4 separate regions of the Homo sapiens genome follow, and regions 1, 2 and 4 are each linked to region 3. Evidence: promoter capture Hi-C in 16 types of primary human blood cells and fetal thymus (Javierre and others, 2016). All regions are on one chromosome and are shown on one strand. The core of a region is centred on a gene start or on the middle of the fragment in contact, and the rest is flanking DNA. Distances in the headings are between cores, read along the strand shown. Region 1 overlaps TNR (tenascin R). Region 2 overlaps TNR (tenascin R). Region 3 holds the start of TNR (tenascin R). Region 4 overlaps TNR (tenascin R).

Evidence for each region. The method cuts DNA at HindIII sites, captures the fragments that hold promoters and counts their contacts. A CHiCAGO score of 5 or more calls a contact.
Region 1: a fragment that was not itself captured here is called in contact with the fragment with the promoter of TNR in region 3 in 1 of 17 cell types (endothelial precursors); the score reaches 5.5 in endothelial precursors.
Region 2: a contact is called between a fragment that was not itself captured here and the fragment with the promoter of TNR in region 3, in 1 of 17 cell types (endothelial precursors). The highest score is 6.8, in endothelial precursors.
Region 4: a contact is called between a fragment that was not itself captured here and the fragment with the promoter of TNR in region 3, in 1 of 17 cell types (endothelial precursors). The highest score is 6.3, in endothelial precursors.

What each region holds. Positions count from the first base shown.
Region 1 is chr1:175,523,683-175,530,483 of GRCh38, reverse strand. It overlaps TNR (tenascin R), which reads left to right. Exons shown (of 23, transcript NM_003285.3): 2 at 2,115-2,215. Among named protein-coding and RNA genes, the nearest start is that of TNR, 220 kb to the left of the region's middle. The HindIII fragment of the contact is 2,055 bases long and covers 661-2,715 here.
Region 2 is chr1:175,554,873-175,561,111 of GRCh38, reverse strand. All of the region lies in intron 1 of TNR (tenascin R), which reads left to right. Among named protein-coding and RNA genes, the nearest start is that of TNR, 190 kb to the left of the region's middle. The HindIII fragment of the contact is 1,612 bases long and covers 3,560-5,171 here.
Region 3 is chr1:175,739,347-175,745,548 of GRCh38, reverse strand. It overlaps TNR (tenascin R), which reads left to right and starts at 1,954. Exons shown (of 23, transcript NM_003285.3): 1 at 1,954-2,323. The HindIII fragment of the contact is 6,381 bases long and covers 1,613-6,202 here.
Region 4 is chr1:175,509,844-175,516,040 of GRCh38, reverse strand. The region is part of intron 2 of TNR (tenascin R); the gene reads left to right. Among named protein-coding and RNA genes, the nearest start is that of TNR, 230 kb to the left of the region's middle. The HindIII fragment of the contact is 4,666 bases long and covers 2,109-6,197 here.

The DNA.
Region 1 (6,801 bases), core at 439-2,938, 210 kb after region 3:
GAGGCACTCAATTTTGCAGCTGCTGGGAGCGTTGGCTGCTGACAGCTCACAGCTGAGTCCCTTTTCAGGAATCACCACCAGCCAAAAAGAGCTGCTTTGCCCATCCTCTCCCTGGGGGCAGCCCAGAGCCAAAGAGAGGCGGGTGTGTGTGGGGCCCTAAGACCTGGATCCTTTTTCAATGCAGGACACCTCCAACGTTCCCTCTGGCCAGTTCCACTTCCTGTACTTCCCCCAGGTGCCGTAGCCCTCAGGAGTAAGTCTCAGTAAGCCTTCTGTGTGCATATCCAGTCTCAAGCTGTTTCCTGGGAATTATGACAGTGTGGAAGGATACTTACCAGTGTATTAAAATGTTACTTAAGGAACCGAGATTGGGAGAAACGATTAGCGTCTTCTGCATACATTTTTATATTGACTTTTTTATTATAATAAGCATGTGTCACTTTTATAATTTTAGGAATATCAAATGAAGAACTTTAAAATGTAATAAACATGTTAGTTGAATGAGTGAATAACTGTGCCTACATCTAGTTGGAGAAATAGGTAACAATAAAATAGCATGTCAAAAGTACCCGGTGTTTTTAATAAACTCAAGTGAAGGGGATTTTCATAATTTTTTTCATGACTTTTGATGCAGTTGGTTCAAAAGATATTGGACAAGCTTTCTGAGAGTGAGGTTAGCACCTCACAGGTGAGGATGAGGAAAAGAAAGGTCAGTGGGTGGAAGCAAACAGGAGGGGGAGTTGTAATTCCATGGAAGAAGAGATTTTCTAGTCTCAGAGCTATCTGCCCCCCAAATAGGCTGCAATCTGTGGGCAGCTACCATCTAAATTACACTGTCCAAAGAACCTGCGATTCTTCCATTTGGTGAGCAGCCAGATTAGAATTGGAAGAGAAAAATACCTGGCATTTATATCACCTGCAACACCTCCCAGTCCTGGGCCCTGGCAAACCCATTGATGACCAGTTCTTTCCCTGTGATGCCACCTCAGAATTATTGTCCCCACTCGCCAGGCAGCCACAGTGGATGCACTGGAGTATTCACTCAAGATGGAAAATGTTTGCCCTTCCAGAACTAAATAATCTTTACACTTCTTCCAATTCTGAGGGTTTCATGAGGTCCTCCAGGGAAGGTTAATTTATTCACAGATGTCTTAGATGAGCAAGCCTCTACCTCAGCCAAATGCTTGCTTCTTCCTCTCTCAGATGTCGCCTGATTTTTGCAAATCCATCCTCTTGAAGCACCTATAAATGATATCCCTGGGGCTCAGTGTCCCATTTGGAGAAGGCTTAGCAGGGTTTGTGAGAAGCAAGCCCTTGAAGGCATAATTATCGAGCCACCAACTGTGTTGACACTTCCTTGGAAATTGTGTAGCGGAGGCCTGGCTGAAGATCTGCGTAGGACCCCTGGTTACAGAAGCTGACAAATTTGCTTACTCAGAAGGCTCTCACTTAACAATCGATGCCACTGCTTCTGTTGGAGGTTGTTCTAATCTGGGAGAATTACTTTGTTTTGCATGCATTTATTCCTTCTTTGTTGAACTTTTATGCACTGGCATTGTGCTTGGGACAGGAACTAAAGCAGTGAGAAAGTTGAAGACTCTGACCCTGAAGAGTTGGGAGTCCAGAGTGAGCATGGCACAAATAAAGAGGTTTATAGTACATGGAGATTTTCACAACATAGGAATGCTTAGAGTGCCAAGGACATTAAGGACATAAGAGGGGGTCAGGTTGGGGAGGAGGTTTGTATGGGAGGCCTTTTGGAGGGAGTGTCAAGCATTTGTCATAATCAGATCAGCTAAGCATGTTATTACAGTCACTTTCAAAAACCTAAAGCACATTTCTGGATTTATAATCATTCCATAGATTTGTTTACCTCAAATATTTTCCTTTTTATTGAAAACTATGAGAATGAATGAAAGAAAATCAATGAAATAAATGAAAGTCTCTGGAGAGAAAAAGCAACTAAGCAACAATTTTCTTTGCTTTGGAAATTCACATGGTGCACCTACAAATTTATTTTAAAGGCGATGTGGTACTTAGAATAGAAAGGGAAACCAGGGTTTCTTATTTTGAAACCATTAATATATTTCTTCCCTCCCTTATTTCTGTTTCAGGTGGCTGTATCGTTTTAACTGCATAGAGGGCAGGTCTCTTTTGGAATTAGGATTAAAGAAAGTGCAGTAAAGAGAAAGCATCGAAGACACCATCACAAAAGGTATTTCCTGTGAACATTTGATCATTCATCATTCCCATGGCCAGTCTGTGGCTTTCATATGTAACTGCATATTCCCAGGGATCTGAGACCTTTTGTTACTGGAACAACACCCTGGGGGCTAGTCTCCTTGAAATGAGGTGGTCAACAGCATTAGCTCCTCTGGGCTTCATGCAGTCTCTGAAAAAGCTGGAGAAACCGGGTACCAAGGCTTTGGCTTCTCATAAAATATTTCTGAATGCATTTCATGATGCGGTTGGTAATGAAAGTGTGTTACTGTGCTCAGTCCCTCCAAGAAGCTAGACTTGACTCCCAGCCTGCCTGTGCCTGCACTGGGCCCGCATGAATCAGTGATAAATTATTCACCAGTCTCGCTCTAAAATTTCTGGAGTTCCAAAACCCCTAATAAAGTATTATGAAAAAATATCCATCTCTTTATCTCTATCCATAACTATATGGCTGGAGGAAAAACCTGTCATTTTATTTCCTTTAATTTAAAAGCTTTCCTAATTCCTTTTTCATACCACATATATATGTCTAAAGAATTTTCAGGTTGAAATAATAACCTCTAAAAAATGGTCCACAGGAGAAGGCTCTTAGGATTCATAGAGTTGTCAGGCACAGTGAATATTTTGCTCCTTTAATAACTTTCCATGGCACTCAAACTTGATATACTGAACTGGGAACTTTTCAAACAGGTGTGGCCGTTTTTTATTGCACAAAACAATAATATAGCCACCAGTCTTCTCTCTGTATTTGTTATACAGTTTGTTATACAGCTTAAGTTTGTTGTGAAAAGTTTGTTCGGGAGCTCATTTTCTTCCTTAGACTCACTACAGTCTCAGTATCCCTCATGCTACTCTACAGATTTAAGGCAAGTCTTTTCTGAAGCCCCATGTTTGAATCAGCCCAGAACACCCTCAGTGGCAGCCTGCCTTCCTTGGGGGCACTTGACTACAAAGTACCCCATGCCATTTAAAACACCTTTGAACATTCCAATTCACAAGAGACATCATCACATCACGCTGGCTATCAACCATTCACACTTAAGGGAGAATTGGTTAATTTGTTGCTTCTAGGATACCAGCTGGTTCAGATCAAGTTCTCTGCAACCAAGCAGACATGGAAGGTGGACCAGGGTGTACCAACGGCTAAGGTTGCCTGTCGCGAAAGCAACACTGGCAGTGTATTACAATGAAGACATTTTTACTGACCTGCACTCTGCTCAGGGAAAGCACTTGTGTGGATAAAAGAATATTTGACAAACCCTGCTGATTAAATCTCAAAGCCACCTCCTGGCACAGAGGGCAGTCCATCTTTCCCGGCCAAGCCTGTCACATGTGTCTGAACCACCTCACAGGAGAACATAGCTTGTCCAGATTAGTCCCCTTCCCCACACACTTACAAATCACTTTTCACTAGCATGGCTTGGTGTTGGAATTGCAGGAGTTACCAAATAGGTAGGCAGCCAGGTCCCCTCATGGCTCCTTGGCAATTCAAACCCAGGTGCTCACAGGCTGGCCTGAACTGCCTTGCTTGCCTGCTTCTATCTCACCTTCATTTCCCATGCATTTGAAGCAGCTTATTTTAAAAGCTGATTAGATGAGCCCTTAATAACATTAGAATTTAAATGGTCCCAGATAGGTTTTCAGCTTCTTGCCAAATTGAGATAAATGTGATATTTGGGGAGTTGAGCTCCCAGCTTCAAGCCTGTTCTGTACTGCAGACAGGTTTTGAAGTACCGTACTACTTTCTCCCGTTTTGCAGCCTAAAACTGGGTTTGTGTGTGTCCATAAGGTGCCCTTCATCTCTAAAGGTCTGTGATTCTCTGTGTAGATATGTCTCCATGATCATGCATTTTCAAAAAATGGTAATCTGGGGGAAGGGGCCCAGGACAGAGTTCTGTCCTTCAATTGTGATAATCTATGGAAAAGCTTCACTCTATACCCCCACACCTTATGATAACTTTCAGTTCCAGACAATAACCTTTATTGAGCAACTATTATTTAGCCATTTACTTTGATATTAATGCTGTTAGTACCTGACTTTGGCTGAGAATAATGTAAGATAGTCAGAAATATGAATGTTTCACTTTATGAATATGTTCAGCACCCTCTGTAACTCTTATGGGTGGGTTCACTCCCAAAAAGGAAAAACACACTTATCAAGCCAAATAGATATAGCCTTTCAACTTAATACCCTTCCGTCAGATTTTATAAAAATAAAAGCAAAATGGGAAAGGGGAATTTAAAAAAAAAAACCAGCAAAAGTGGACATAAACAAATGGTTCAATGTTTAGGTAAATATATTCTTACAGGCAAACAAACCGAGTTATCTGCTTGCTATACTGCCCCAACCAAACTAGGCACCTGGCTACCCCCAGAATTAAATCTTGAAACTCCTAAAAACACGATTTGCCCTTCTGTATATGGGTGGTCATGAAAGAGGTGTTCCTGAATTTAAGCTTCTTTGTGAAATGCTTAACAAATGTAGCTGCTCTTACAGACTTTCAAGAGAAGCTAAACCTTGAGCTTAACCCTTGAGCATTAGCACTCAGGTGGGGAACGACGGCCCACCATATTTCCCTGGAGGGATGTTAAGGACTCCAAGGAGCCAGGTAGGTGAAGGAGGGCACCCGGGGCTTGGGCATCGCTGTGGGCAAACCCACTTTTCCTGCACTGGCCCTGCCAGTCCAAAACTCACCCCAGATTTCAGGAACTCTTGAGGGGTTTCAGGAGGAAATTACTTGTAATCCATTTAAACTATGGCTTTGATCAGAAACTACAGTTAGAGTGTAAATGTCTGCTTTCCTGCGTGGTAAAACTAGGTTGAGGAGGCTGAACAAAGTACAACTCCAGAATTGCAGTGTTTGACTCTATGCCAAACCTCTGATCAGTCAGAGCTCAAATGGCTGTTCCCTATGTGTATTAGTCTGTTCTCACACTTCTGTAAAGAACTGCCTGGGACTGGGTAATTTATAAAGGAAAGAGGTTTAATTGACTCACAGTTCAGCATGGTTGGGGAGGCCTCAGGAAACTTACAATCATGGCAGAAGGGGAAGCAAACACCTCCTTCTTCACATGATGGCAGGAAGGAGAAGTGCCAAGCAAAAAGGGAAAAGCCCCTTATAAAACTGTCAGATCTCAGGAAAACTCACCCACCATCATGAGAATAGCAACATAGAGGTAACCGCCCACATGATTCAAGTACCTCCCACCAGGTCCCTCCCATGCCATGTGGGAATTATAGGAACTGCAATTCAAGATGAGATTTGGTTGGGGACACAGCCAAACCATATCACTATGGAAGGGGAAAGAGGAGTATCAGAGGAGGTCTTGGCAGAGCCTCCAGGCCTTGGCCTACCCACATCTCAGGAAATTAAGCATTCTGTGCCATTGTGACAAGGCTTTCATTAAGACCATATTATCTAACAGGCGACTGCTTGTCCAAGTACCTTCCTAGTACTTGTGTTTGCTCTCAACATCTTATGCTTTACATGTGCAAAATGTAATGGCATTGGATGCATCAACTGGCAGTTTACATGCAAACTCACCTCCTCCTTCGCTAAGCCTGGAGCTATAAAGAGCTTGCTCAATTTCACTCTCCTTCTCAGAATGCTTCTGTGCAATCATCCTGCCCAACTTGCTTTTGTCCTGTCTCTGGAGAGAAAGGGTTCCTCCTGGCCACAACTAACTCTTCCAATGAGTCCTTGGTCTCTTCCTTACCCTTCTCCTCTATAGCCTGATCCACCCATTGCTCTCCTTTCCTCACTTGCATTTTCTTTCACTCTCTGTAAGTTCTTTTTCTTCTGCTTGTAAACAATACTTGGTCTCCATTAAAACAAACAAACAAAAAGCTTTCCCTTGATTTCCTGATTCTCTCTCTCTTTCTCTTGTCCTGGATTCCAGGGAAGAACATTCTCCATTCACTTCTCACCATTTACTTATCCCTGAATCCTATGGAAAGCAGTGCATCCTACCTACCCGTGCAACAAATTCAACATAATTCGGCAGACATGCATGTAGCATATACTAGGTGCCACACCCCATCTGGACTCTGAACACAAGGAGGACACACTCTTACAAGGAAGGCAAGGCATGCCTCCCTCACGCCTAACTACGGTGTGATAGTGAGATGGTGAGGCTATGCACTATAGAGAGGCAGGGTGGGAATCATTATTAGCCCTGTCTTGGGGGAGGGGGCAGCAAGGAAATTGTCAAAGGAGTTCTCCAGCAAATGGGGGACCCAAGAAGAGAAACGAGAAAAAGAGAGAAGAGGGAGGCCAGTCCAGTAGGAGGAGCAGCATGGGCAAGGTCATTGAGATCATGGGACCAAAGCAGCCTGACGTGTAGACGCTGCTATGTACATGGCAGGGAGGCAAGGAGTATTGAGGCTTCACAGAATGACAGACATTTAGACTTTGAGTGGAGATCCTGAGAAACTTTAACCCTTTCTTGCAAACAATGGGAACAATAGAGGGTTTAAAGGCAGGAGTGACATGATCATGTTGCCTTTAGAAAGATCACTCAGGACACAGCAATTAGAGGGGCAGATGAAATAGGAAGTTGCTCTAATAGTCCAGATGAGAG
Region 2 (6,239 bases), core at 3,116-5,615, 190 kb after region 3:
AGACTAGAAAAATGCCAGAGACAACAAAAACAGCTTTCAGTAGCTATGTTCTGAATTAGAAGAACAAGGAAGGGACAAGCTCACTGCTTGGGGAACGTTAAAGATGCAACGTTAAAGATGAGAAGAGAAAGGAGAATCACTCAAGTATTTTGTTTCTTTACCAAAAGGCAAGATCTTTCAACAGAGAGGAACAAAATCGATTTTGTTAAAATAATCTTGAAACTCAAACTGGATAAACAAATTTAAGTGGTCACCCAGAGGCTTTAAAAGTTTTCAAACCTGACAAGTTTTATGCCAGAATTTTAAAAAACTTGTACAAATGCTCATAAAACCACAATTTAGAAATGATTAAGGGAAAGATACCAAAAGACTAGAGATGAGAAAAACTAGATTTTTTGTAGAAAGAAAGCAGATTTCAGATTGTACAGCCTGCTGGATTTGATACTGATCATTATAGAAATCCTAAGATGAATTACTATTCAAATGGTTTATGGCCTCTTGGATGAGAAGCAGTAGTCACTAGAAACTAGCATGGGTTCACTGAGAACAAGGCATATTAAATGGAATCCCATTTCCATATTCCACCAGATTGCTAGTTATGTAAATCAGCTAAATACCGCCAATATGGCAAGGCCCCTGACAAAGTTTGCCTTGGTATTCTTATGGATTGAATGGAAATTGAGAGCTACATCATGGTTAATTGACCAGCCATGCGCAGGCAGCTGATTACATCAACATCTGAGAACATCTTGTCATAAATCACAGGGCTTCATCTTTGGCTGTATCCTCTATTTTATCAAGGATTTAGATGAAGATGCAGAAAGCATGATTATTGAGTTCATGGATGGGATAGCAGAGTTAGGACTCAAAATATATCTACAGACTATGGGACTGGCTAAAACTAACAAGGTGAAATTCAACAGGGGTAGAACTAAAGTTCTGCATTCAGGCTTAAAACAAAAGCTGAGCAGGTACAGACTGGGGATACCTGGTTTAAGAATAATTCATGTGAAAAACACTTAAGGTTTACTGTCTGACAAAAATATCAATGGCAGATTACAAGGTATAAGACTGATAAAACATTTTCTGCAATCTCAGACCACTGCTAGATGTAGTCTGCCCAGGACAAAAGAGGCAATCATCTCATTTCCCTGGACCAGTGTTCCTGACAACCCAGAACTTCTCCAGGGAGGACAAATACAATGATGAGTCATCTCAGAAGGTTGCCATAAGAGTAACTAGGCAATGACTGGTGGAGCTAAAGATATTTCTAGATATATAACCTAAAAAATTCTTGCACTTGTGTATAAGAAGTCACATATAAATATGCTCCTAGCAGCATTCATTGTTATGGCTACAAACAGAAATAACCTGAAGGTCCATCAACAGGAGAATGGATAAAGAAAATGTGGTATATTTATGAAACTCACAAACATAATCAGAATGGAAAAAGGAAGTTGAGTAAGAATACCTACAATATGATAGCATTTATTTACATCTAAAAACATGTACAATACTGATATGTATTCTTCAGTGATACATATGTACGAAGGAAAGTAATAAAGAAATTCGTGGGAGTGAGAACTACCAAATCCAGAGTAGTGGTTATGTCTCAGTGGAAAGGGAGGGCTAGGTAGTATGTGGTGGAAAAACACAATTTTCATTCTATTTAAAATGTTTTCTTTCTTAAGCTGGTGGTTGGATATATAGGTCCATATTATTTCACTCTGTTTATCATTTTCTATGTTTGAAATACAAATAATGCATTTTGAGGGAGGAATTTTAAAAACATATTATAATGAAATTCACATGGCATAAAATTAACAATTTTAAAGTGAACAATTCAGTACTATTTAGTACATTCACAGTGTGTGGAACCACCAACTCTATCTAATTTCAAAGCATTTCTATCACTACCAATGAAACCACATATCCATTAGCTAGTTTCTCTTCATTCCCCATAGAAGAATTTTTGTTCATTTGTTTGTTTGTATAGTGAAATTTTTTTAAAAAATAGATTTTTAGTTTTCAGAGTGGTTTTAGGTTCACAGCAGAAGTGAATGAAAGGTACAGACACTTCCCATGTGTCCCTACCCCAACACACGCACAACCTTCCTAGCTATCAACATCTCCCACCAGAGTGGCACATATGTTATAATTGATGAACCTAAATTGACACATCATTATTATACAGTTTGCACTAGGATTCGCTCTTGGTATACATATTTTGGGTTTGGACAAATGTATAATGACATGTATCCACCATTACAGTATCACACAAAGTAGTTTCACTGCCCTAAAATTTCTCGCTGCTCTGCTTACTCATCCCTCTCCATACTGAGTTTTTAAGTAGGGTGCTTTAAAAAAATTATAATAAAGAAGGAAAGAGGAAACATAATAACTATTTTTACACATCTTAAAATTTTTCCTATGGAAGAGAAATACAATTTTTATCCTGTAAAACTCCCATGGGATCAATAACGGTGTATCAGAAGAAGGAAAAGTTTGGTTTAACATAAGGAGGAACATTCTAACAAGATTGGAGCAGTATGTCATAGTAGTTCAGAATATGACTTTGAGTTAGAGTTGGGTTAAAGTCTGTTTAATGCACTCATTTTGGAAAAGTTGCTTAACTTCTCTGAGCTTTAGTTTCCTCATATTTATAGTGTAGATAATAATAGTACTGACTTAATGGAATTACTGTGAGAAATAATTTCAATGAAGCATATACATTATGGAGTAGTGAATAGCACAGAATAAGTGTGGCATAGATATAAGATAATTATTTTAAAAAAGAAAGAGTTGTCCATAGATAGAATGGCTATCTTTTTTTTTTATTATTATACTTTAAGTTTTAGGGTACATGTGCATATTGTGCAGGTTAGTTACATATGTATACATGTGCCATGCTGGTGCGCTGCACCCACTAACTCGTCATCTAGCATTAGGTATATCTCCCAATGCTATCCCTCCCCCCTCCCCCCACCCCACAACAGTCCCCAGAGGGTGATATTCCCCTTCCTGTGTCCATGTGATCTCATTGTTCAATTCCCACCTATGAGTGAGAATATGCGGTGTTTGGTTTTTTGTTCTTGCGATAGTTTACTGAGAATGATGATTTCCAATTTCATCCATGTCCCTACAAAGGACACGAACTCATCATTTTTTATGGCTGCATAGTATTCCATGGTGTATATGTGCCACATTTTCTTAATCCAGTCTATCGTTGTTGGACATTTGGGTTGGTTCCAAGTCTTTGCTATTGTGAATAATGCCGCAATAAACATACGTGTGCATGTGTCTTTATAGCAGCATGATTTATAGTCATTTGGATATATACCCAGTAATGGGATGGCTGGGTCAAATGGTATTTCTAGTTCTAGATCCCTGAGGAATTGCCACACTGACTTCCACAATGGTTGAACTAGTTTACAGTCCCACCAACAGTGTAAAAGTGTTCCTATTTCTCCACATCCTCTCCAGCACCTGTTGTTTCCTGACTTTTTAATGATTGCCATTCTAACTGGTGTGAGATGGCTATCTTGTATGACACTAAGCTTCTCAAAGCTATCAAAGTTCAAGTTGAGATTGGATGTGAACTGTCCAAGGTGCTGGGGAGAGGGAATTCTGCAAAAGGGATGTTAGGGTAAATGTTTTCTGTTATCCTCCTCACACACTGTTGAATCTAAACAGTCTTTGAAACTGAATAGCCATATTGTTGAGTGCTTCAAGTATGATGTATATTGGTTATTTATTGCTGTGAGTAATATTATCACAAACTTAGTGGCTTAAAACAACACACATTATCATACCACTTCCGTGGGTCAGGAGTCTGTGCATGGCTTTGTTGGGTCCTCTGGCTCAGGGTCTCATCTGAAAGCTGCAACCTAGATGTTGACCAGGACTGTGGTCTCTTCTCAATTGGAGAAAGGTCTGCTTCCAGTGTCATGTGGTTGTTAGCGAATTCATTTCCTTCTGGCTTGTTGGGCTGAAGGCCTCAGATTCTTGCTGACTGTCTGTGAGAGGCTGCCTTCAATTCCTGATTATTGGGCAGTGGGGAGACATCCTCAGCTCCCTGTCTTATACTGGAAACATAGACCTTTCCAATGTGCCTTCTTGCTTCATCAAAACCATCAAGGGAGGGAGTCTGCCAACAAGATGTCACAATTGTACACAACATAATCATGGAAGTGACATCTCAACACTTTTGCTATATGGTGTTGGTTAGAAGAGCATCAATGGTCCCACACACACTCATGGCGAGGAGACTACATAAGGGGATGAGTACCAGGAGGCAAAGATCATGGGGACCATTTCTGAGTTTGTCTATCCAAGGAAGGGGACTGTGCTGAGGACACCGGAGTATTAGTGCCTCCCTGGGTACCATGAGAGGGGGCAACAGAGGAGTCAGACACACATGCACAAATACAGAAAAGCACAGCTGAGACTGAGAAGGAGCAAGAGGAGGAGAGTCAGGGAGGCTGAGAGGCTAAACAACCAAGAAAGCAGAGTTCAGAGAAGGTGAGTGTAACAGGGACGCCCAGGCTTACTGAGCAGCCATTGTGGATAATGGGGTCCTGCTTGAAGACAGGACAGGCTACACCAGGAGTCTTGCCAGAAAAGGTCTTGTTTTCACAGAGTTTAGAGAGACAGTTTTTCTCATAATGTATTTTGGTACAAGTTGGATTTAGAAAAAGATGAAAGATGCATGCTAAAATCAGGCTTGGTTCTGTACCAGGCAGTATACCAGTCCTTTACGCACTTGAATATGCTTTGTCCTTCATGGACATTACTTGTGTTGTGCTATATGTGGCTAAAACTGCCTACTAACTGATGTGGGTGTGTTGAGCTTGGTGTTTAGATTGTTAGCCTTCTGATGAGGAGGTGGAAAAGAATCAAAAGGCAAGGAGCTGAGGCCAAAACCAAAGGATGGCCTTCCCCAGTGGCCAAGGAGCCCATCTTCAGAATGGCTCTGTATTTCATTACATGCCAAAAAGGCCGTCGGTCTTCTTATTTGGAGATGTATTTGCAGAGGGGCCCAGGAACTCAAGTTGCAGCCCTGGCTGCCCTCAATTCAATAATTTCTACATGATTATTCTATATAAGTATCCAGGGGTGGAGCAGGCTGTCTGAGCCTATACGCCTTGCTTTGAATAAGATCTAGAGAAGCTTCAAATCATTGAACAACAGATTCATGTAAAGCTGGCACTAAGATGGTTGGTGATAATCTTATAGCCACACAACTCATGGTTGGAAGGAGCCTTCTAGCCAAATCCTCCTATCAAGGCTGAACTCAGGGATAAGCTGAACTTGGGTCAGCTACTTTAGATTCTTCATGGTTTTACGCTTCTTGTTTTTCATTAATAGTAAAGTAAGGAGATTTTTAAATCTCTGGAAAACGAAGATTCTATTATGAATTCAGAAAATGGGTACAAGAGCTTGGGTTTGAGACCAAATACCCTTGACAATATTTTCCCCAGATGACTAGCTCATGGTGTGTTTCAGTTATCATTCCATCAGTAGAGCTGAATTTTGCATCTTGTAAGTGTCTTCATCTCAACTCAAAACCTGAGGAGATTTTTTTTTTTTTTTTTTTCTCTCAGTTGTCGGTGAGTCAGCACTAATGTGCTTATGAATCAGGCAGTGTGGGCGAGCCACACATTCATCAACACTCTGGAATAGAGGGGCAGCCCAGGAGCTGATGTCTTTATAGAATACCAGGGGAGTTCTTCCAGGTGTGGGCCTAGCCTGAGAGGTTTTATTAGGAACTAGAAAATGTGCTTCTAAAGGAGTAACTGGAGTTGTCTATCAGCTCCCCTTCTGACACTTGCAAGAATTTGACTACCTCAAATATCTGAGATTTTTCCCCTCTGTATGTATCTATAGGGGGTGGGGAAGAGCAAAGGGGAGAAAAGCAGGGACCCATGGAATATCTCCTCTGGGCCAGGCACTGTGTAATGTTCTCTTCTAATGTTGTCTCATTTGACATCTACCATTCCCTCTTTTTTGGCTTTCTTGAGCTTGCAGCACCTAGGACTATGCTTAATCCATACTGGAAAATCTATACAAGTTGCTTAACTAAAAAGAGTTAAATCATCACATGGAGGATAAAGGAGCACTGGCCAGAGAGTAAAGAGACCTGTGTTCTAGCCTAGCCCTTCCCGACTGCTGGATGACCTTGGCATAACCATTCACTGTGCACCACAGATTTTCCATTCATAAAATGAGAGGGTGAATAA
Region 3 (6,202 bases), core at 705-3,204:
ATTCTTGGCACTTAGTCCTTGAATTGTAATCATTTGTGTCTTGCTCTTTCTTTCCCCCTTTGAGGAACTGGTAACTCTGTTGAGGACAGGGACCATGATTTGTTAATTGTCACCTACCATCTTTGTCCTACTTCATCCACTTTTCACCCAAAAAAAAAAAAAAAGCCAGAAAAAGTAAGCCACCTCAGCTAAGGAATTCATAATTCTGAGATTCTGAAGAAAATGTCAATTTCTCACTGAGCGTTTATTACCTGAATGCATTACAACGTTTCAGCTCTTCAAATTGCTGGCTCCGTTCTTGCACTGTGTTAGGCAGTGGGCAATAATTTGCTTTTGGTACAGAAATTGAGTGATGTGTCTTCTGAACTGATGTTAAAACCCAATAGTTTCCAATTTTATAAGATTTAAAGCCAGTTTTGTATATGTGAAACTACCCAAATCACCAAGAGAATTAATTTTCTTAGGAGATTCTCATCGGTAATAGCAATTTCCACAGTTTGTTTGGCACCCCTAGTGGTAAATATTTTATTTTAAAAACTCAGCCACATATAAATTTATTGTAACAATCTAGGCACTTTGTCATAAATAAAAGCAATGATAACTGTGGTGCTATCTTCTATTTACTTCAAATGTCACTCCTGAAGTGTACATTTATAGAACATGGTAATTCAATGAGGAAGCTCCAGGGTCAGATGGCTCAGGTTCCATTACCATCCCTGACACTCACTAGTTGTGTGATCTTTGGAAAGTTATTTCATTCCTCTGTTACTCAGTTCCCAGTCTATAGAGTAGCAATAATAGCCTCTGCATTATAGAGTTATTGTATGGCTTAAATGAGCTAATACATGTAAGGGCTTATAACAGTGCCTAGCACCTGGTATAAACACTCTATAAATGTTAGCTATTGTTATTTGCCAGGAGTGAATCAAATATAAGAAGAGTGTTTGTATAAGATTACCTTTAAATTCCCTGCCAATCCTGAGGTTCTATGTTTCTATATCATTCCAGTCCCTTAGCATTCCTATTCAGTAGGGAGGGGGCAGCATTATCCACATTTTACAAACAGTAAAATTGAGCCATAGAGAAGCAAAATGTCCAGTAAGCAAGTGGCAGTCTGAAACCAGGACTCAGATTTTTAGATGTAAGTATTAGGACTCTTTCCGGGAGGCTGTGTGGCTGTACATTTAAAAGAGAATGTTAGATATCCCTTATGAGCCTATGAGCAGTGACCCCTTGATGCCCCTTCTCTGCCAAGGTTCTCCATAAATGTGCATCAAGGTCACTTCTGTCTCTACTTCTGAGATGATCTCAGGCCATATCTTTTCAGATATTTTTCTTACTAGCTTTACAAAAAAGCTATATTGTGGAGTTGGATGAAGGGCCAGCTCCCTGTATCCTCTGCCTCTTTAGGCATTCCCATGCCTGGGTTGTGCTACGTATACACATACTTCACCTGGCTGCAGACGCTGACTTTTTGGAGGGTTCCTTCTGCTGAGCCCGGACCTCAAACCACTTGAGAACCCCACAACTGACCTTATTCCAAAACATTCTATCCCAACCCATTCCACCCTGGATTTCTCCTTCAATCATGGGCAAAGGATCTGCAAAAGCTTCCATCCTCTCCCTTTCTCTTCTTATCTGGGTTGGTCAGAGGGAAGCCTCTATCTTCTTCAGGACCCTGCCTATGCAGAGGCAGCTCCAAGAGTTGGGTGCGGGGAGTATTTCTGTGCCTGAATCTGGACTGTTCAAGAGGATTTAGGATGCTTTTCTTTTCTGTCCACTAGGGGGCTGCTTGTAGGGGGATGGAAAAAACGGAGGCTTAAAAAAATCATGCTGCTGAAATTTCAGCAAGAGGGGAAAAGAGAGAGCGCGTGAGAGAGAGAGAGAGAGAGAGAGAGAGAGAGAGAGAGAGAGAGAGACAGCAAAGCAGTCCCAGGCTTCCTCCTCTCTTTCACGTCAGAGGCAGGAACCGACTGTGCTAAGGCTGTTGGCTCAACACCCAGAGGAGACGGGCAGACCCAGGGAGAGTGAGAGAAGGGGGTCCTCTCTGACCCAAGGAATTACCACTAGTGGAGTGAAGCCACCTGACTTTTTGATCTTATTTTGGTTGCCTCCTCATTCTCCTTCCACCCGTAGCCCTGACAGCTTGGGTTTCATTTCTTTCGTGGAGCCTTGTCTCTTCCTCCCAGAATAGGAGGAAGGGAAGAGAAGGGAAAGAGGAGGGCTCTCTAGGTGAGCGCATCAGCTGGCTCCAGCCTGAGCAAGCAAGAATTTTCTTCCCAGGAAGCTCCTCTCGCTCCCCGGCCGCCCACCCCCAGCCTGGGTAAGTCCAGAGCACTCGCTCCTTTGATTTTCTGGCTAACGTGATTTCAGCACCAAGGAGAGCTATGAGATGCATTTTGGTTCCTGTGTATCTGTGTGTTCTGCAAGGCATTTGGCACTAGGGTTACATCTATTTCTCTGCTGCCAGTAGAGTCGGGTTCTGCGTAGGGAAAAGAAAGGCGCAAAACTATGTTTACCGAATTAAAGGGGGATTGGACTCTGGCCTTGCGGGTGTGTGTGTGTGTGTGTGTGTGTGTGTGTGTACTGTTGCATAAGACAGGTGAGGTCTGAGCTAAATTGCGGGTGGTTTCTGCGTGTCTCCATGTAAGGCTGTTCTTTTTGTCTGTAGATAAGCGAGATGGTTTGGGGAATTAGTCGTGCACCTTCTTTAACTCTCTCCCGACAAGCCATCCATGGTGGGAAAGAGTTGCAAAGGAAGCCTGGGGGGTTGGGAGTGGAGGTAGAGTTAAAAGTTACGCACCTCTGAGAGAGCTTTAAAGAGGTGCTTTGTAAAATGTCAGTTTCCTAGTATTCTCTGGGCTCTTGCTGTGGAGAGAGCCCAACCTGACCTTTTACTTTCTCTTCTGGTGTGAACCCATGGTAAGTGGGCAGGTGCAACAGGTGAAGCTCAGGCTGGGGCGGCTTTGGGGGGTTGAGGTCCCTTCTGACTTCATGGTGGTAGGAAAGTGCTAGTGTCTTGAGCTTTGCAGAGACTGGCTGGTGTGGGTTATATTACATTTGCAAGGAGGCAGGAGGTACCCTCCACTTTTATGCCATCTTTGGCTATGGGTGGTTGGAAAGAAGACAAAGTCTGTTCTGCCCTGTTTTCTGGGGCATTTGGCAGTGAAAAACAACTAAGAATAAAGGTTTGTCTCTATATGTCTAGGGTGAGCAGAAACAAAATTAGACTTGTCCCAGACTCAGGAGGGCTTGAAGTGGTACTCTGTTCTCCTCCAGCACTGAGAGGCTCTGCAAACAGGAGCTCATTATTACTTCTTTCTTCACTGCTGCTACTTTTTGCAAGGTATTACTCTGTCTCTCCTGCTTTCTGCCTCTCTGAAGTATGTTCAGTCAATTCCCTGCATCTGCTTTGGTATTGTCTTGGAGACACTATAGGCCTGCCCCTGCCCCATTCAGTCCTGGCCACACCTACCTGGTTGAGTCATTCAACAAGTGGTGTTGAGGATTTCCTTCAATCATTCAAGTCTCCGTGGAGCCAGCATCCTACAGGGAACTTGAAAGAGATGTGGCTTCTTGTAGGAGCAAGTCTTCCCTTGATTTAACCCCTAACTGTTTATGGTTCTGGTCACTTTCTTCAAGTGTGTTGAGACAGGGGAGATACATAGGCAAGGTGGGGTGGTTTCACTCTTTCCAACCCCAAATGGACCCTAGAATGGTGATTCTTTGTCTTATTTTTAATTCAGCACAATGGGCCCCTTCTCCAAGATGAAGAAAATACTCTCTGCCTCTGGCTGGGGAGCCTTCTGGGTGAGAGACACAGTTCTGAGTGAAATGGCACCACTTTTCTTTTTTACTATGCTTGGCATTGGATCCAGAAATCTTAGCATCTCCCTAGAGTGGCAGGAAGTAGAATGCATCCAGGAAGACAGTGAAGTCAGAGGTTGTAAGGGTAGGGAAGAAAGACTGAAATAGACAAATGCAGAGCATCAGAAACCAACACTGACTCATTCAGTATTTTAACATTCCAAACCTCCTGTCCTTGAAATCTTCCAGTTTGAACAAGTGAGTGGATAGATTTCTGCATGACACATCACTGAGGATTTTTAAAAAATTATGCCCTTGCAGTGGACCCTGTCCAAAACCACAGTTTATTACTGAAGTCACCATACTTAGTAGTCATTATCTCATTAATGCCCTTAAATTTTCTCTGAAAAAAAAGTGCTCAGTGACATTATTGGACCCATTTTATAAATGGAGAGACACAGACGCTTAAAGTGGGAAGCCAGAGGATAGCGAAAGCAGAAATAGAACTTCTAGCCTGCTAATATTCCCTCACCTAGGAAATGCAGTAATGCTCATGTGCAGGAGAGAAGGAATGGATTGCTCCCCATTGGATAGACTTGCAGCCAAAGCCTTTTAGGGAACTCAGTGTGGAGCAATGGCCTCTCTCTGGTGAAGAATGAGAATCAGCCAGAAGTCTCAAGGTGCTGCTGGCCTTTACTTCTCAGCTAAGAAGATGGCCAAGAGCCAGGTAAAGAGCTCTCTGGGCTTACTGCAAAGAGAGAACCCTGGGCTGGTGGCATCTAGGCTGAACTGATGTCGTGCACCTGATTGTCACATCACCATGCCCCAGAAATCCCAGCTGAAGCCACCCTATCTGGGGCATGTTGCCATGGATGTCTTGGCTTTGGGTGTTTGGTGACTGTTCTCTCTAAGAACGTTTTTCTGGGACCACCTTCATTGAGTCCTCTGTGGCTCTGAATGTGGCAAGGATGACTAAGGAGCAGGAGAGGGCTGGGCTCTGACCACCTATAGAACCACTAGAAGAGGAGTGGGAAACTGGATACAAACTCACTTTACATATAATGCCACTTCTGCAGCATTCCTGGCCATCATATCTGGCCAGCAATCTGGAGACAAAGCCACTAAGTTCTCATGCCCAACCCCCCTTCACTGTGTAGGGGAGACTGCTGGGCTGCCACCCAGGACTGGGGAGATGAGCAGTGGTGGGGAAAGATGGAAGGAGGAGGTCAGCTGTTCTGCCCTATTCTCCATGGCCATAGGTTGCCATCTTTTACCTGGAAAGCGCCATTATTACTTTTTTTTTGTTGAAAAAAATGACATATAATTTGTATATAATAAAATGCACTGATCTTAAGTATTCAGATTAAGTTTTGACAATTGTGTACACTTGTATACCCCAAAAAAGATGTATAAAAGTTCCCTGTGCTTCTTTCCAATTTCTCCCTCTCCCAACACCATCACTTTCTGACTTGTGTTTGTGCATATGTGGTATCACCATAGCTTATGCTGCTACATTTTGCAGCAGAAATGTATTGCTGAATGTATTACTTAATAGATGTGGTATGTAAACCCTAGACTTTCAAGGGAACACCTCAGAGTTCTGAGGCTATTGTTACTGGGTAAGTAGCAAAGATGTGGGAGGGGTACATTCTGCTCCCCAGCCTTGAGGTCATGGTGTTAGAAAGTCAAGTGGTCATTTCAACCGCATTTATAGAAACCAACAATCAAATGTGAACAGAAACTGTGGAAGCTCCTGCAGGCAACTGCCTCAGAGCTGACCTGAGTTATTTGATGGAGTTCATAGAGATGATTTTGAAATTTTTATTAAAAACTTAGAATTCAGTATTCCAAGTTGGTGGTTGGTCATGTCTCCCCATCTGGGCTCCAGGAGAGTGAGCTGAGGAAAGAGTACCTATGTGAGCTTAGTAAAGAAAGAAAGAGGAGAGTTCATTGTGATAGAGCTTATACCATGAAATTGAGTCCTATCCACAAAGGTCATGGCTGAGGAGGGTGCCGTTTCTCTTTATTTAAGAGTAAATTTAGAACCAGAAGCCACTTACAGAGACCCATGTACCAACATAGCTCTATGCAGGGATGTCTCCATTCACCCTGCTTCCGTCCCTGGGTTGTGGGCTGGGTGAGGTAGTACTCTTGCATTTTACCATTAAGAAGTAACGGAGTTATCAGAAGGTTTGGTAACTTTGGTGAATGTGTGTGTGTGTGCGTGCGTGTGTGTGTGTGTGCATGTGTGTGCATGTGTGGTATCAGCACACACGTACAAATATATATAACCAGTTTGGACACCTTGCCTGTCCAATTCTCTTCTACTCTGTCCCTCATTTAAGGGCCACTGGATAAAGATGGGGAATCTCGTGCACCGTTTGTACATAGGGTC
Region 4 (6,197 bases), core at 3,192-5,691, 230 kb after region 3:
AATTGGATATTAAACAGTCCTCACATCCATCCATTCTTAGTCCACAAATTCTTTTGGAGCTTAAAGAACATATTGCAGCCACCAACAAGAACCTTCCAGGTTTGCCACTTTCCTACTATTTTCTTCATACTTTTTCAAGTGAGCTGGATACATTTTGAAGCCCTCATCCCAATTTAGAATACACTTTAGTTTAGTCCTAAGGTGAGTCTTTCCTTAAAAAGAGCATCCATGCCTGTAGCCCCATTCAGACTCTGAAATTCCCTTTGTTCCCATCTGGCCTACCTGCATCCAGACTCCCTCCTGTCAGGACACTTTCCCCACAGCACCCTGGTGGCTGTTCACATCCCTGCCTAACACTCACTAACCATTTTCACTGTTCTCACTTTCTTAGCAAGGAATGCACAACAATTCAGGACCAGGCTTGTCTTTCCAGCCTCATCTCTTCTTAGACCCCTATAGGAATGCACCCTGTATTCTGGCCACACCCAAGTCCAGAATGTTCTATGCTCTTTCATAGTGCCATGTTGTTCCTTGCACTAGAATGCCTGCTCCAAACTAATTCTCTCCTTTTAAAGTTCATCCTGAACATTGCCTCCTCCTCAAACCCTCTCTGACTCCCTCTTTACCCCCAAACCTAGACTGAATTAGGCGCCCATGTTTCCTTAGCATCTGAGGGCAGAGCTCAATTATTGAACAGAGCATTCAATACTATATGCGGGAGCACAGATCTTTCTCTTCAACTAGATTGACATCTCCTTGAGAGTAAGACTACACAGTGTTTCACCTTATATTGTCAAGGCTGGGCATAGGGTAGATGCATAGCAAATATTTGATGAATGAATGGGCCAATGACAGAATACAAGAAATAATGACTGAATAAATAAATACACCCGATCACATGATTTATGCTAATTCCAGCAGCCACACTTCCATTCTCCAGCTCTGGGCAGAAGCATTTTAAAAGTTTATTTTCATAACCTGACATTCAGTTGGTGAAGACTTGGCCCGGAACGAGTTGGTCTCCCCACAGTAAGTGACACCATCGCAACTTCTTTATCCTCCCACTCTTTATCTGAAAAAAAATAGACTGGGTAGCATGGACGAGATGTTTCCCTGCAGCAGGAAACCACTATTAGCACAAACCATGTGGTGACCATGTTGCCTTCCTCAGGGGCAGTCATCCAGCCCCACAGGAAATCTCCCCCGCTCTGCACACTGCATTTGGTTTTCACAGAGCTGTGGTCGCCTGGCATTTATCATGCTGTGCTTCATCAGAGATTTAATCAGGTCTGAGTTTTTAACAACGTGCTCGTCATGCTCACTTAACTTAAAATCAAGCCTGTTCAGGCATTAGTTGGTCCTATTCACTCAGTCTAGTAGTTTTGGCATTTAAAACTGTAGACTTTTTCATCAAGGTACACTACGTTTTTACCAAGCATCTCCCTACACAAAAACTTCTCAGACTGTTTCCCTGGGAACCATGGTTCCCTGGTTGAATAGTCCAGCTGCTGGAAGGGATGTATCTGTGTATTGGTTTCCTGTTGATGCCATAACAGATGACCACAGACTTCGTGGCTGAAAACAATAAAAATGTATTATCTTACTGCTCTGTAGGTCAGACACAGGTCACACTGAGCTTTTGCCAAGGTGTTGGCAGGGCTGCATTCTTTCTGGAGGCTCTCGGGGAGAACATGTTTTCTTGCATTTTCCATGCAGGGTACAGGCTACCCATGCTCTTTGGCTGGTGTCCTCTTCCTCCATATCAAAGCCAGCAATGGCTGATGGAGTTCTCACATAGCATCACTCTGATTTCCTCTTTTGCCTCCCTCTTCCACTTTTAGGGACCCTTGTGATTACACTAGGAATACCCAGTTCATCAGGTTAATCTCCCTATTTTAAGGTCAGCTGATGAGCAACCTTAAGTCCCCTTAGCTATATAAGGTAGCATATTCACAGATTCCAGAGACTAAGGTATGGATGTCTTTGAGGCGTCATTATTCTGCCCATCACAACTTATATGACTCTGGACCTCTGGAAGTGATCCTTTACATAACCTCATGGGTCCAGTGTGGACCTTCCAATGGTGACATCAGAGTCACCTGGAAGCTTTTTAGAAATGCAGATACTCCAAACCCATCCCAGACCTTCAGAATCAGAATCTACATTTTCACAAATTTTCCGCGGATTAGATGTGCATGTGCAGTGAGTTTGAGAAGCCCTCTCCAGAGGTTCCCTGAGCAGGCAGAGGAAAGAGCTTAGACTCTGGTGTTGAAAAATGATTTTATCTGGAAACACGTAATAAGGAAGGGGTCCTGAGGAGCCCAGTCAATAGCACCCCTCTTCCCTGTCAGAGCTCTGAACAAATAGAAATGTAAGAAAAAGAAGGGAGCCAGGTAGAGACCTAGATTTCACATTGGTAAACTGATATTTGATGATGTTACTTTTGCCTGCACCTATAACATTGAACCTTGAGATGAGGAGGGCTTCTTCCTACCCAGTCGCAGCAGCACTGCACTGGGGAGGGTCCCTCCCCTGCAGCCCCCTGCAGGCAGGGACAGAGCATGTGGAGAGGGATTTCTAGGAAGGAGGAGTGCATCTGAGAGCACCTGCTCTCTGCAGGCAGACCAACTCCAAAAAGGAAGAAGAAGAACCTAGACTACATGTGTTCGATTTCTTTTTCCAAACTTTGCAAGCAGGTAGATCACTAGTGAATAAGGGGATGGAGATGAGACAGGAGAGTTATAGCTCAGAGAGCTGCCTCCATATGGGAGGAAACATCAGGAGATGAATCAACATTTCCCCCAATAAATAACGCCTACAGCACAGTGTAGTGGGGAAGACAGAGAGACAGCCCACGCAGAAGCACTTGATACACAGCAGGAATCCCATTACAAGGATTACCATGTTATCCACCAATTTAAAACCTGGCAACCCAACAGAACATCCTAAGAACTTATTACAAAATGTGGTTTCCTGGACCCTTACCCTAGGCGATTCAGATTCAGTAGGTGTAAGTTGGGGCCAGGGAACCATACTGACCTGAAATTCTATAGCATCCAAGTGAGGAAATGGCTGATGCCTTGGTCCATTCAGTCATTTAGGCTGGACTATACCTAAACCAGAGAACTTCTGGTTGCAAGTTACAGAAACCAACTGGAGCTGGCTTACCTAAAAGGGGAAGTGTGTTGCAGGATCCATGGGTATCTTGCAGAACAAAAAAGCAAAGGGCACGTGTTGGGAAGGGACTGACCCCAGGAACTAATGCGTTTCCAGGAACCCACGATGTGCTCTCTCCATCTCTCATTTCTGCTTCTCTTGATGACCTACACTGTCTTCTGTGTTTTCATGCATGTGATGGACTCTGCACAACTCTTAAAGGTGCTTTTCCTCTGGACACTGAAGACAGATTAGCACTCTTTTAGTCTCCATTCTAAATTCCTAGGCAGAGAATATGACTGACCCAAGTCAGGTCAGCTGTTTTCACCAGGTTCAGGGGCCTGGGGTTATAGTACTCATCTCTCCATCTCCATAGGGATATGTTGGAGGGAGGATAATTCTAGAGGAAAGAAGTCATCACTTGTTTGGTAGATACCAAAAGAGTCTACTAAGAGTTGCTATCCTATATTTTTAAAATTGCTTTTCCCCAATAGCCAGAGAATAAAAAAAGAAAACCTTGTGACTTTGAGTGTCTGATAAAGATTTTTAAAATATTTCTAATTTACACTTAGAATCAGTCTCATTGAAATACTAGTTTTAGTGAAATCCTCAAGATGATGCCTCTCCTGCCTACTTGAAATGGTCACGGATCTTAACTCCTTTGGAGAGGGTGCTCCTCCTTCTAAATGGCTCACTTTCCCCAGATAGTTCTGGCCCTTTTACATGCTTCTTTCTAGGGTGAAGAGAGTTCTCTTCCAAGGAGATATGTTCTAGGAGTGAATGCCACATCCATTTATGTTGGAATTTTTTTAATGAATATTTCGACCTACTAGACCATAAGTTCTTCCAGAGTCAAGAGATTCTATCTCAATCATCCTATAGCTGTAGCACCTATTAAAGTGCTGGATCACAGTGGTTACCCAATATGTGTTGTTGACTTTAGCAATGAATGAGAAGTCTTGTTCTTCAAAAAGTAATGTAATAATATCATGCTTAGTGAGAAGTCATTGTGTACCAGGAAACAATGCCAGGAGAGAGCTCCAAAACTCAGGACTGTTGTGCCTTTCTGGAAGAAGAGTCCGTGATCACCTCACTACGGGTCAGGGGAAGGAAAGGGGAACTGAGAGATTTGTCAGTGTGAGAAGCAGTCCCAGGAGTTAGAAGTAGTGGCTCCATGACTCACAAATTAACTTCCCTTTCAGGCAGGGCTTCTTATTTTCCTTAGCATCCCTGTCTTGATCCCAGCCTGCTCAGACCCCTGCCTCTCACTGCAAGATGTGCTTGAGTCATGAGAGTCAGGAATGTTACTTCTCAGAGGCGCCAAATGGCAGTTGTCACAGGGTCATCATAGAGGGAATGTAGAGACCTTTCATGAATGTTTATTCTAATTGCAGTACAATAAAACCTTAGACTTCACAATCCATCATTCCTCTATCAAATCAAATATTACAGGGCTCATGTCTTTATCATGACAGTATTTTATTCTAAAAGTGTATTTTCCTACATTTTCCAACTTCTAAAATAATAAAAAATAGCTTTGGCATGACAGTTGCCTGACATAAATGAAAACACAATTTAATGAAATGGCATTTTATGAATTTAAAGTGAAGCAAATATTTGACATGCTTTATTTAAATTAATTTGCTATGCATGCTCTGTTGTTTCAATTGCAGCAGAGCTTTGTTTTATTATATGTTTACTGCACTGGGCTCTGAGGCTTGCTTGTGAAGAAACAGAAGCTAAGGGATCCAGGGAGTCCCAACTTAGAGAGTCCCACAGGCCCACACTCTGGTTCTGTTGGCAGGAAAATTTGGCTGAATTGGGGCAGGAAGTTGTGTAACAAAACGATTACATCCATTTTTGCAAGGCAAGAGTGAGCTATTCACCTCCATGTTGGTGATATTTTTTGCCATATAAGCAGCTAATTCCTTTCAGTAATTCTACTCTAAACTAGTCTTAATGTGACTTCTATATAAATTCTGAACTGAATAATTTTGGGAACGTTGTAAAAATATCCTTGCTAAACTTTCTAGAAAAACAATCTGCCAGTTCTAGGATACTATCACTTCAGGGGAAGCTGTGGCAAAGCTATCTCATTAATTTACTATCTGATACTTTAAAGATAAATGCACCCAACTCCTGGATTTATAGAATAAACTTGCTTTGAAATAAGCAAATAATACTATTTTGATTTGAAATTCCAGATACTTATTTACTTTCTTCTTTTTATAGTTTCCTGAATCAGGAGTTTGTAGTTCCAATTAAGAGTTTTTCAACAGCTTGTAGTTATAGGGACATTATTTGACTATGGTTATTATTTGCTTTACCTAACCACTCACCTGGTACAACGACCTCCATCCTGGAAGAGGGATAGGAAACAATAATGATGGTGCTGACTCTCACCAGGAAAGGCCATGGGGGACACGGGATAGAGGTTGTAAACTGAGTGAGGGTCAAAAGTAACAGATAACTTTTGTGCACACGGATGGTAACTTGTGGTGTCTTTTTTTTTTTCTTTGCTTTGGGCAAAGGTCTTCACAGTTCTTAGGATCAAGTGCACTTTGAAGATGAGGATGTAATTTACAGACAAAATAAAGTCCCTGGACTTAGAAGAGGAAAACCCTTAAATACATTTCATTTCATTTCATTTATTTTCAAGACAGGGTCTTGCTCTGTCATCCGGGCTGGAGTGCAGTGGTACAAACATGACTCACTGTGGCCTCGACCTCCTGGGCTCAAGTGATCCTCCCACCTCAGCCTCCTGAGTACCTGGGACTACAGGCATGCACCACCACATACAGCTAATTTTTATATTTTTTTTATAGAGACAGGATTTTGCCATGTTCCCCAGACTGTTCTCAAACTCCTGGGCTCAAGCAATCTGCCCGCCTCATCCTCCCAAAGTGCTGGGATTACAGATGAGTGTGAGCCACTATGCCTGGACCTTAAATACATTTTAGAAAAGAATTTAACACATACACATACACACACCCCATAAAGCCTGTCTCCACCATTTGGAAAATGTTAGTTCAATCCTCAGG